Regions from separate parts of the Homo sapiens genome. Here all the other regions are linked to region 1. Evidence: promoter capture Hi-C in human tissues and cell types (Jung and others, 2019). All regions are on one chromosome and are shown on one strand. Each heading gives the region's core, a stretch centred on a gene start or on the middle of the fragment in contact. The rest is flanking DNA. Distances are from core to core; before and after follow the strand shown.

Region 1 (3,684 bases), core at 436-2,935:
CTGGAATGTTACGACTTTTTTCTTTAAAAAAAAAAAATTGGAGAAGGGGAGGGAGACATTCTGTCACTTTTTAAATAAGTGGTAGCACCGGTGATTATTTTTCCATCTGGTTAACCAAATGCAATTTTTGCCCATGCAAAAAACGAATGTACAACCCCTTGCTTCAATCCACCGGTTCATCCCTGGGCCGATGCATGGAGAAATAAAAAAAAACTCTTGCCCTTGAGGACTAAGAGAGGGCAACTAGTCCATTTTCCCAGCCAGAACCTGCCTTGCTTTTGGAAAGACTCCGCCGTTCCTTTAAGGAACCAGGCCGAAGGCGGGAAGGGAGAGGTGACGGGGCCATCGGGACTGCTAAAACTGTATCCAGAGCGTACCCAGGCGGCCCAGGGACCCGGGCGGGCGCGGGGGATACGGCGGGAAAGGAATGCAAGAGCTGCGGCTTCACCTGCGACAGAGAACCTGGCGGCTCCTGCAACCTCCTCCTCCTCCTGCGCCGCCTGCGCTTGGCGCTGCAAACCGCTGCAAAAGCCACTGCTGGGAACGCGGCGCAACCCAGAGCCCGCTCTTTAAGCGCGGCTGTTAGCACCCCGGGAGGCAGCGTAGGGATGGGGTTGAGATGGAATGAAGGTAATACTTTGTCTTGAGCCAGGGGCAACTAGGATGCACAAACCCCCTCTGCAAACAGCCAGTGTACACACCCTGCAAGGAAGGCGCGCCACAGGCTGCAAAGGGAGACACAGGTTCCTCCAGCAGCAGTGGGCCATGGGCACCGAGCGGGGACACGGGGACGCTGTAGTGGCTCTGGGGCCTCACCCTGCACTTGCGTCCGTCCACGGTCTCCTCCTCAAAGCCTTCTCCGACCTTGAAGTTGATCTCAGTGGTGCGCACCGTGGTGGATGTCTTGATGTAGAACTGATCCCCGTCCTGGCGGATCTCCACGTGCGGCTTGGACGCAGCCGCTACGGCCACTTTCCTCAGCATGGCGTTCACACCTGCGCAGGGTGCACCACAGGCTTGGGTCACGGGGCCTCGCCGCCAGTCTCGGGACCGGTCGGGCACTGGTCATACCCTAACTTTAGAAAGGGGCCTTAAAATTGATCCACTCGTTTCCCTGCCCTCGCCCTTGTTTTCGAGATGAGAGACTGAGGCACAGAGAGGGTAAGTGACTTTCCTCGAGTTGCACAGTGAATTCGTGGCAGAGCCTGGTCCCAAATTTGAGTCTCCAAATTTAAGTCCCTGATCCTCCTTGCTCTCCAGTAATCTCTCCTCGCTATGATCTAGCACGAGATAAAGTCCGCACCATCGAGGAGGGCGCCAAACATTCAGCAAACGTTCGCTGAACGCGTGGGTTCCGGGATCTCTACCAGCTTCTCCGAGACCCGGTGCGCCTGGGAGACAAGGCGATCTATTGCCCCGGGGACTCCCTCCTGCCTGGGCTCCCCAACTTCCACCCCCTCCAGGACCGGGGCACTTCCGGGACCAGGGCACCTCCGGGCCGCATCTCCCCGTCGGGGCGCGCCCTCTGCACCAGCTTACCCAGTGCCTTGAGCAGCTCGTCGAAATTCTCGCTGCTGCGCATCTTCCAGGTGCCGGCGAAGTTGGGCATGGTGGCGGTGGCGGCGGCGGCAGGTACGGACAGCGGCGGCGCAGCGGGCACACTCTGAGCTCGCAAGGCGGAGACTGGCGCTTTGCGCCCAGCGCTGCGCGCCTTGAGTCACTAGGAGAGCGCCCCCAACCCCGCCGGGCTTCTGGCCCCGCCCCGCCGGCCCTGCCCCCGCTCCCCCGCAGCCCCTACTCGGTATGCGCTCAACTCCCAGCCCAGTTGTGCCTCAGCCTCCAGAGGTGCGGGCACCCGCTCTCCAACTGGGGAGCCTCCACCTCCCTCAGGACACCCACATCCCGCTTTAAAATGGGTGGTGGGAGAGGGTTAGCTGAAACAAGATGGGCTTGGAGGGGATAACTGTTGAAGCTGGGCGGTGTGGACTTGGGTTATGATTCTACTTTTCTCTCTACTTTTGAATATGTTTGAAAATATCCATAACATAAACTTAAAGTGGATAGCGAGCGGGGCCATCAGGGGATGGGACCCACTCTTTTTTCACCTCCGGTCGTACCTACTGGGTGTGCCCAGATGGTGTCCCTTCCCTCCCAGTCCGGGATCCTATTCTGAAACCCTCTCCCCGCATCCCCACGCCCCCCACAGGACCCATGGGGAGTGAGTGGCAGGAAACCGCAACCCCCATCAACACCAGCTTGGGCACTGAGGCGCGAATCCACGAGCTGCGGGTCCTCCGCGTTCCGAGTGCAGGAGGGGGCCAGACCTTTGTCAGGGCTCAGGACAAACTGTGGGTCGAGAGGCATGGACTGAATCAGCTCCAGAATCTGGGCTAGGTGCGGCCTGTTTTGCAAAAGCGTGAGGCTTTGCACTCTTCGGGCAGGCTGTGAGGGCCAAGGGGAGGAAGTCTTCTCCCTTTGCTCCCAAATAACCTAAACATCACGACCTAAAGTCCCCTCGGTGTTTCCACTAAGGGAGTACAAACACTTCACTATTACCCTTGTAGCTCTTCTCTGTACATTTTCCTTCCAGCTTTTTCCCACTATTTTACCATCTGCACACCTCAGCCAAACTGTACAATTCAGGATTCTAGAACGTGCCATGCATTTTATTATCTCTAAGTTTTTGCCCATGCCATGGCTTCTTCCTTGAATGCCCCTTTCCTCATCGGGTTAATCAAATCTTGCCCATTCACGAAAGCCCATCTTTATGCTCTCTCTTTTGTGAAATTCAGTTTCCTAATAAACTGTGATTATTTTTCTCTGAATTGACAGGATTCTTGTCCGGTCCTGCTCTTGTTCAAGTCTTCGCTCTGCTATAAACTGAACTCCTGGAGGGCAGTGATCGTTTATCCACTTGTCCTCCCTTCCTAAGGCTTAGCCAGGTGGGGCTCGATAACTGTGCATTGATTTGAGGAGGATGTGAGTGGTGGCCTGGGGTGAAGATTCCCCCAGGACCTTGGGGAATCTGTGCTGAGTGCCTACTGAACAGGGCCCTGGAAACTTCTGGAGGTGGCTGGGGCTGGGTTGCTGCCAGGAGGCTCCGAGGATCTGTCTAAGAAAGCAGCTGAGGACAGGAGAGGGGAGTGGGGCCATCACCAGCTGGAAAGGGGCATGGGCAGGGCCGGCATTCTGGACGTGCCGTCTGTGCAGTCACACAGGGCCATGCACTTAGAAGGGCCTGATAGTTAGATTGGAAAATGGAAAAGCAGGAATGCTCTGCTATTGCCAGCTTGAACGTCAGAATACTTTTTGTTTGTTTGTTTGTTTTGAGACAGAGTCTCGCTCTGTTGCCCGAGCTGGAGTGCAGTGGCGCAATCTTGGCTCACTGCAACCTCTGCCTCCTGGGTTTAAATGATTCTCCTGGCTCAGCCTCCCAAGTAGCTGGGACTACAGGTGTGTGCTACTATGCCCAGCTAATTTTTTGTATTTTTAGTAGAGACAGGGTTTCACTGTGTTAGCCAGGATAGTCTCGATCTCCTGACCTCGTGATCCGCCCTCCTCGGCCTCCCAAAGTGCTGGGATTACAGGCATGAGCCACCGTGCCTGGCCCCATAATACTTTTTGAACAAGGAGTCCTGAATTTTTATTTTGCACTGGGATCTGCAAATTAAGTAGCAGGTCCTG
Region 2 (3,684 bases), core at 875-3,374, 92 kb before region 1:
AAGTAATAAAGATCCCGTATACTCTTCACCTAGTCTTTCTCCATGTAGCATAGTACAATATAAAAACGAGCAAATTGACATTCATACAATCATTCCACCTTACTCAGATTTAGGCAGTTCTACATGTACTCCTTTGTAGGGTGTGTGTGTGTGTGTGTGTGTGTGCGCGCACATGCACGTGTGTATTTAGTTCACGTGTGTGGCTTTGTGTGGCCATCACTACAGTCAAGATATGGAACATTTCCAAGGATCCTTCCTGTTGCCGTTTTATAACCGCAGCTGTTTTCCTCCTAGGCTGCCATTTCCTCATCCCCTACACCCTATTTTGAATGCTATGCAAATGGAAGCTTATGGTATGTTTTCACTATACATTTTTTTTCAAGTTACATTTCCAGTGAGATTTTAGCACCCTTTTAGATCAGTGTCTCGGGCAATGTCCAGGCTGGTTCACCTCTCCTTTTTTTTTTTTGAGAGAGAGTCTCACTGTGTTGCCCAGGTTGGAGTGCAGTGGGGTGATCTCGACTCACTGCAACCTCCATCTCCTGGGCTCAAGTAATTCTCCCACCTCAGCCCCTGAGTTCCTGGGACCACAGGCGCACGCCACCATGCCCAGCTAATTTTGGTATTTTTTGTAGAGACAGGGTTTTCCTATGTTCCTTAGGCTGGTCTCGACTTCTGTACTCAAGCTGTCTGCCCACCTTGGCCTCCCAAAGTGCTGGGATTACAGGTATGAGCCACTGCACCTGGCCCATCTCTACTTTTTAAATTAAACATTTTATTTCGAAAAACAAAATTCAAGAATACAGAAGAATTGCAAGATAATTATAATAAAACTTCATATATACCTTAATTAGGTTTATTTATTTACTGTTAACATTTTGCCACATTTGCCTTGTCTCTCTCTCCCTCTCTGCTATTTCAGAGATAAGATCCTCATTATTTCTTATTCTTTTTCTTTTTTTGAGACACAGTCTCACTGTGTTGCCTGGTCTGGAGTGCAGTAGGTATTCACAGCAAGATCATAGTGCACTGTAGCCTCCAACTCCTGGATTCAATCAATCCTCCTACCTCAGCCTCCCAAGTAGCTGGGGCTACAGATGTGTGCCACTGCACCTGGCTATTTCTTATTCTCATTTTTTTGGTACCATTTCAGAGTAAATTTTAGAGATTATGACCCTTCAGTCCTGAGTACTTTATCATGTATCTACTAAAAATGATCAAATTCAGGAAATGTAATTGATACAACACAATCAATTGTATCAATACAATTCATATCCAAATTTTATGAACTTGAATCATCAAATGTTATTAATAATCCATATTCAAACATTGACACAGTTTACAATCCATATTTAAATTTTGTCAATTGTCCCAATATTGTTCTTTCTAGAAACTCTTCTCCAATCCAAAATGCTATCCAGGATAAAGCATTGGATTTAGATGTCGTATCTGTTTAGTTTTCTCTAATTTGGAACAGTTCCTTAGCGTTTCATTTTCTCTTATGGTATTGACATTTTTAAAGAGTATTGGCCCATTGTATTGTGGAATGTCCTTTAATTTAGGCTAGCCTGACTGTTTCTTCATGATTACATTTAATTATGCATTTTTGGTAGGTATGCTACATAAGTCATGTTGTGTTCTTTTTGGTGCATCATATCAGGAGGCACCTGCCTTTACTTAGTTCCTCTTTTTTTTTTTTTTTTTTTTTTTTTTGGGAATGGAGCCATCACTTAACTTAAAATCAGAGCAGAGTTTTAAGCCCAGGTCCATGAGACTCTATTTTTTTTTCTTCTTTTGAGACAGGGTCTTGCTGTTACTGAGGCTAGAGTGCAGTGACACAATCACAGCTGACTGCAGCCTTGACTACCTGGGCTCAAGCGATCCCCCCATCTCAGCCCTGCAAGTAGCTGGGACTAGAGGCATGTGCCACCACACCTGACTAACTTTTAAATTTTTTGTAGAGACGGGGTCTCCCTATGCTGTCAAGACTGGTCTTGAACTCCTGGGCTCAAGTGATCCTCCCACCTCAGCCTCCCAAAATGCTGGGATTACAGGCATGAGCCACTGTGGCTGGCCTCCATGACACTCTAGAGCCCATATTTTCACCCACCCACACCTCTGTGGTTAGACATGGTCTCAGTTATTACAGGGGGTGAGTTGGAGGCTCCCATGGCCTTTCTAAATCTCAGTATGATCTCTTAGTAGCTAAGTCCTCAGTGATGCTCTGTTCTTTCAATCTATGTTTTAGTTCTACACAGAGAAAGTCTGTTTGGTTATTGATAGTTCCAAAATAAATGTCTTATCTTCAAGAATCAAAAGCATGATAAACAAGATCTCCTGCCATTCTGTGGCTGACCTTTGTAGCCACTGCTGAGCCTGATCGTGGGTAAGAGGAGAGCAGTTGGCTGCCAGCCCTTGGCATATGAAATTAAAGGGAACCATTGCTCATCCAAAGCAGGTAACTGTATGTTCTGCCTATCAAGTCAAGAGGAATGCAGATAAGAGTTTTTTCTCTTCACCAATGAGAGTAGACCACACATTAAAAGGTTTTGTTGTTGTTGTTGTTTTGTTTGTTTGTTTGTTTTTGAGATGGAGTCTTGCTCTGTTGCCCAGGCTGGAGTACAGTGGTGTGAACTCAGCTCACTTCCACCATCCACCTCCCGGGTTCAAGCAATTCTCCTGCCTCAGCCTCCCAAGTAGCTGGATTTGCAGGTGTGTGCCACCATGCCTGGCTAATTGTTTTATTGTTGTAGAGACAGGGTTTCACCATATTTGCTGGGTTGGTCTTGAACTCCTGACCACAAGTGATCCTCCCGCCTCAGACTCCCAATGTGCTGGGATTACAGGTGTGAGCCACCGCACCCAGCCCACATATTAAAAGTTTTTAGAAGCTCACCGAAATCCCTGTCTGTTGCCAGCAGGTGATTAAGAATGTTGATGCAGGCTTATAGAGCAGAACACTGTCCTTGGAACTGTGTCAAGATATGGAAATGGAAAAGACCCTTATTCCTTGGACCCTAATTCCGTTTTCTAAGGGAAAATGCAGAACTGCCATCAGTAAAATGACATGGAAACATAAATTTCAAATGTACTGTTGTTATGGTTTGAATTGTGCCCCCACAAAATTCATATGTTGAAGTCTTAATTCCTAATACCTGTGTATGTGACCTTATTTGGAAATAAAGTCATTGCCGATGTAATTAGTTAAGACGAAATCATACTGGAGTAAGGTTGGTCCTAATCCAATGACTGGTGTTCTCCTAAGAAGAGAAAACAGGCACATAGACACACAGGGGAAAGCCCATGTGAAGAAAGTCAGCACGCAGAGAGAAACGCTGTGGGATCATGAAGATGGAGATAGGGCTGACAGGTCTACAAGCCAGGAAGAGAGGCCTGAAGCAAATTTTTCCCACAACTCCTAGAAGGATTCAACCCTGCCACCACCTTCATTTCTGACTTCCAGCCTCCAGAACTGTTAGGCAATAAATTTCTGTTGTTTAAGTCTCCCAGTTTGAGTAGTTTGTGACGGCAGGCCTAGGAAGTGAATACAAATACCTTTTTGGAAGACCCAAGGTACAATGAAGACAGTGCAGCAGAGCAGTCAGGAGTCCTGGGTTTCAATCCCAGCCTTGCCCCAATTCTGCTGTGTGGCTATGCCGACCTGAATGAATCTATCAGGCTTCA
Region 3 (3,684 bases), core at 553-3,052, 85 kb after region 1:
TGTGGATGTTCCTTAGAGTCTCCCAGACCTGTCTTGGCTTTAAGGTGAGCCCTCATCATCCTCTGCCTAGCCCTCTCCAGTCACTCTCCTTGCATTCCAGAAGTCATAGACCTACTCTGGAAGCTTTGATGGATCACTGAGTAGAATAATGAAATCCAAATCCTTCCCCTGGCATTGAAGTTTTTCCATGGTCTGAACTCAGTTTACCCTTCTTGGCTCCAAGTCCTCAGAGCGCTGTTTGCACTGTCAGAGTAGTGTGGTGCTGTTCACCAGCTTGGAAGGTTGAGAGAAGTAGCCTGAAATCTGTTCAGAAGCAGAAAAACACTGCAATTCTATTATGATGATGGTGGAGTCACATTTTTAAATGTGCTTCTAAGTAGCTGGCATTCAATTGTTCTTAGAATGGGAACTATCTTTGGAAAAAATACATTGATAAGGTATTTGAGATTCTAAGGCCAGGGTCTTAAAAGATAATGGCAAAACTTCCTGGCATGACATGGGAAAGGAATTTGTTAGGCTCTCAAGAGGGAGAAAAATAAGAAGCAAGGAGGGAGAGGGGGCTGGGCGTGGTAGCTCATGCCTGTAATTCCAGCACTTTGGGAGCCCAAGTCAGGCAGATCACCTGAGGTCAGGAGTTCGAGACCAGCTTGGCCAACCTGGCGAAACCCTGTCTCCACTAAAAATACAAAAATTAGCTGGGTGTGGTGGTGCACACCTGTAATCCCAGCTACTCAGGAGGCTGAGGTAGAAGAATCACTTGAACCCGGGAGGCAGAGGTTGCAGTGAGCCGAGATAGCACCATTGCACTCCAACCTGGGCCACAGAGCAAGACCCCGTCTCAAAAAAAAAAAAAAAAAAAGAAAAGAAAAGGAGGGAGAGGGAAGAGAGAAGAGCCTGCAGGATGAAGATAGGTTTGAATCAGGTGAGCCTGCTAGGCCCTCCTGTCTCCTCACCACCCCAGCCCATCTTCAGTCTGCTAAACTCACAAATATTTGGTGCTTGTGTGTGTGGGTGTGTGTGCAGGGTAGAGTGAACGTGGAAGGAGGGGGTGAACACCTGCAGAGGGGGCCATGGAACCCTCTGCCCCAGAGAATGCACAGGATTGTGAGGAAAGCTTTGGAGTGCTGTGGGCTGTCAAATTTGAGGCATTCAAGCCAATTTTACTGAGTCTGGATGAGCAGATGGTTCCATTTTTTATTGTTACTGTCGTTGTTGTCACAAAAAATTACCCCTCAAAAAGATACTCCCTCCTGGGAAAGGCACAGAAGAAAGAAGAACAGAATCTTGTTGCAAAAAATATATATATCCTTCAGAAATGCTTGCTTGGCAAAAATACATCTTTCCTTTCTTTTTCGCTGTTAACCATTATGTGGAACCAGGCCCTAGAAAATGTCAGGCTCTGGCCAGGCATGGTGGCTGTCACCTATAATCCCAGCACTTTGGGAGGTCAAGGCAGGAGGATTGCTTGAGTCCAGGAGTTTGAGACCAGCCCGGGCAGCATAGTGACACCCTATCTCTACAAAAATAGAAAAAAATTACCCAGATGTGGTGGTGTGCACCTGCAGTTTCAGCTACTTGGGAGGCTGAGGTGGGAGGATTGCTTGAGTGAGCTGGGGAGGTTGAGGCTGCAGTGAGCCCTGAATGTACCACTGCACTCCAGCCTGAGCAACAGAGTGAGAACTTGTCTCAAAAAATAAATAAATAAATAAATAAATAAATAAATAAATAAAGTCAGGCTCTGAATAAATAGATAAAGATGTCCAGTAACCATATTTTAGAAGCTCAGCCTCACTACTATCACTACTAATCCAAGAAATGCCAATTAAGACAATAATACATGATACCATTCTTTGCCAATGAGGACCGAGGAACAGCTGAATCAATAAGGGAATCATGGGTCCCTGTACAGTGGAGAGAAAGAATGCCCCATGTTCACCTGCTGCAGGCCTCACAGAGCAGGCCATCAGGACCAGCTGGGACTGGGTGACAGGTGTCCCCACCTTGGGTGGTCCAGCATCCAGGAAGAAACAGTCAATCCTCCTACACACCCAGGAACCAGAGGGCAGACCTGGGGAGCCAGGCCTGGGACAGGTAAGCATTCACAGAAAGGGACCATTGTAACCTGAAAGGGGACCACCTATATTAATTTTTAAATTTTCATAATACTTTATATATAAATCACATACAGTAAAATGCACAAAGCTTAAGTGGGCTGCTCACATGTGTAGACCTATGTGACCACCTGGATCAAGATATAGGTACTTCTGTCACCCCTGAAAGTTTCCGCATTCTTTTGAGTTCTGTCACCACAGACTATATTTGTCTATTCTTGAGTTCCGTATAAATGGAACCATATGGTAGGAGATGTTTTTAGTCTGGTTTCTTTTATTCATTACACCTTTTTGAGATTTGTCCATGGCCCTACATGTCTGTCTCATTAGTCCATTTGTCCTGATGAGAAATATTCTATTGCATGGATATACCACGATGTGTTTATTCATTATCCTGATGATGGGCATTTGGGTTGCTTACTGTTTCAGTCTACCATGTATAAAGCTGCTTGCATGAATCTTTGTGTGAATGTGTGGTTTCATTTCTCATCCACTCTCATACCTGAGAGTGGATTTACCGGGTCACAGAATAGGTGTCTGTGTTACTGCTGTGTGAGGTCTTGCCTCACTGACAACCAAGCAAGCTGTTCTGCAGTGGACATCAGCTGGGTGTCCTCTAACTCAATTCTGACACTGTCTACCTGGAGATAGCCTCAGACCCCACAGGTCAGTATCGCAAGACTTTAGATGCCCTCCCACTTTAGATGCCAATCACAACCTGTGCCTCTGGCCAGCTATGAATTGGGGTTTCCACAACCCCCTCCTTGGGTTCAATTAATTTGCTAGAGCAGTTCATAGAACTCCGGAAACACTTTAGTTATGTTTACCAGTTTATTATACAGGCTGTTACGAAGAATGCAGATGAACAGCATTCGTGGAAAAGATGCACGGAGCGAGGCCTGTGGGGAGGGGAGCAGAGCTTCCATGCCCTCCCTGCATGCACCACCCTCCAGGAACCTCCACATGTTCAGCTGTCTGGAAGCTCTTCCGAACCCTGTCCATTTGAACTGTTATGGAGGCTTCATTACATAGGTATGATGGATTACATCATTGGCCTCAGTGATTAACTCAATCTCCAGCCCTTCTGCCCTCCACCAGGGTGGTCAGGGAGGCAGGGCTGGGAGTTCCTTTTTTTTTTTTTTTTTTTTTTTTTTTTGAGAGAGACAGAGTCTTGCTATATTGTCCAGACTTGAGTGCAGTGGCTCAATCATAGTTTACTGCAACCTCAAACTCCCGGGTTCAAGTGATCCTCCTGCCTCAGCCTCCTGAGTAGCTGGGACTACAAGTTCATGCCACCATACGCAGCCAATTTTTTATTTTTAGTAGAGATAAAGTCTCACTCACTATGTTGCCCAGGCTGGTCTTGAACTCCTGTGCTCAAGCAATCCTCCCACCTCAGCCTCCTAAAATGCTGGGATTATAGGAATGGGCCACCACACTGGCCGAGTTCCATTCTTTAATCGCACGGTTGGTTCTCCTGGCAACCAGCTGTCATCTTGAGGCAATTCAGGAGCCCATGAAGAGTCACTTTGTTAGAACAAAAGACGGTCCTATCACCCAGGACATTCCCTGG

What was found. Contacts are between HindIII fragments. The study calls those that stand out against the background at their distance.
Region 2: a fragment that was not itself captured here is called in contact with the fragment with the promoter of CRABP1 in region 1 in 3 of the 25 tissues and cell types used here (dorsolateral prefrontal cortex, lymphoblastoid cells and neural progenitor cells).
Region 3: a contact is called between a fragment that was not itself captured here and the fragment with the promoter of CRABP1 in region 1, in 3 of the 25 tissues and cell types used here (IMR-90 fibroblasts, dorsolateral prefrontal cortex and lymphoblastoid cells).

What each region holds. Positions count from the first base shown.
Region 1 is chr15:78,338,354-78,342,037 of GRCh38, reverse strand. CRABP1 (cellular retinoic acid binding protein 1) reads right to left here and starts at 1,685. Exons shown (of 4, transcript NM_004378.3): 1 at 1,540-1,685; 2 at 817-995. The coding sequence starts at 1,609. RefSeq lists an enhancer at 1,507-2,135. The HindIII fragment of the contact is 13,960 bases long and covers 1-3,684 here.
Region 2 is chr15:78,430,826-78,434,509 of GRCh38, reverse strand. No RefSeq gene overlaps it. Among named protein-coding and RNA genes, the nearest start is that of IREB2, 5.5 kb to the left of the region's middle. The HindIII fragment of the contact is 5,689 bases long and covers 1-3,684 here.
Region 3 is chr15:78,253,877-78,257,560 of GRCh38, reverse strand. DNAJA4-DT (DNAJA4 divergent transcript) reads left to right here. Exons shown (of 4, transcript XR_001751621.1): 3 at 1-44; 4 at 2,954-3,118. Among named protein-coding and RNA genes, the nearest start is that of DNAJA4-DT, 8.4 kb to the left of the region's middle. The HindIII fragment of the contact is 4,200 bases long and covers 1-3,684 here.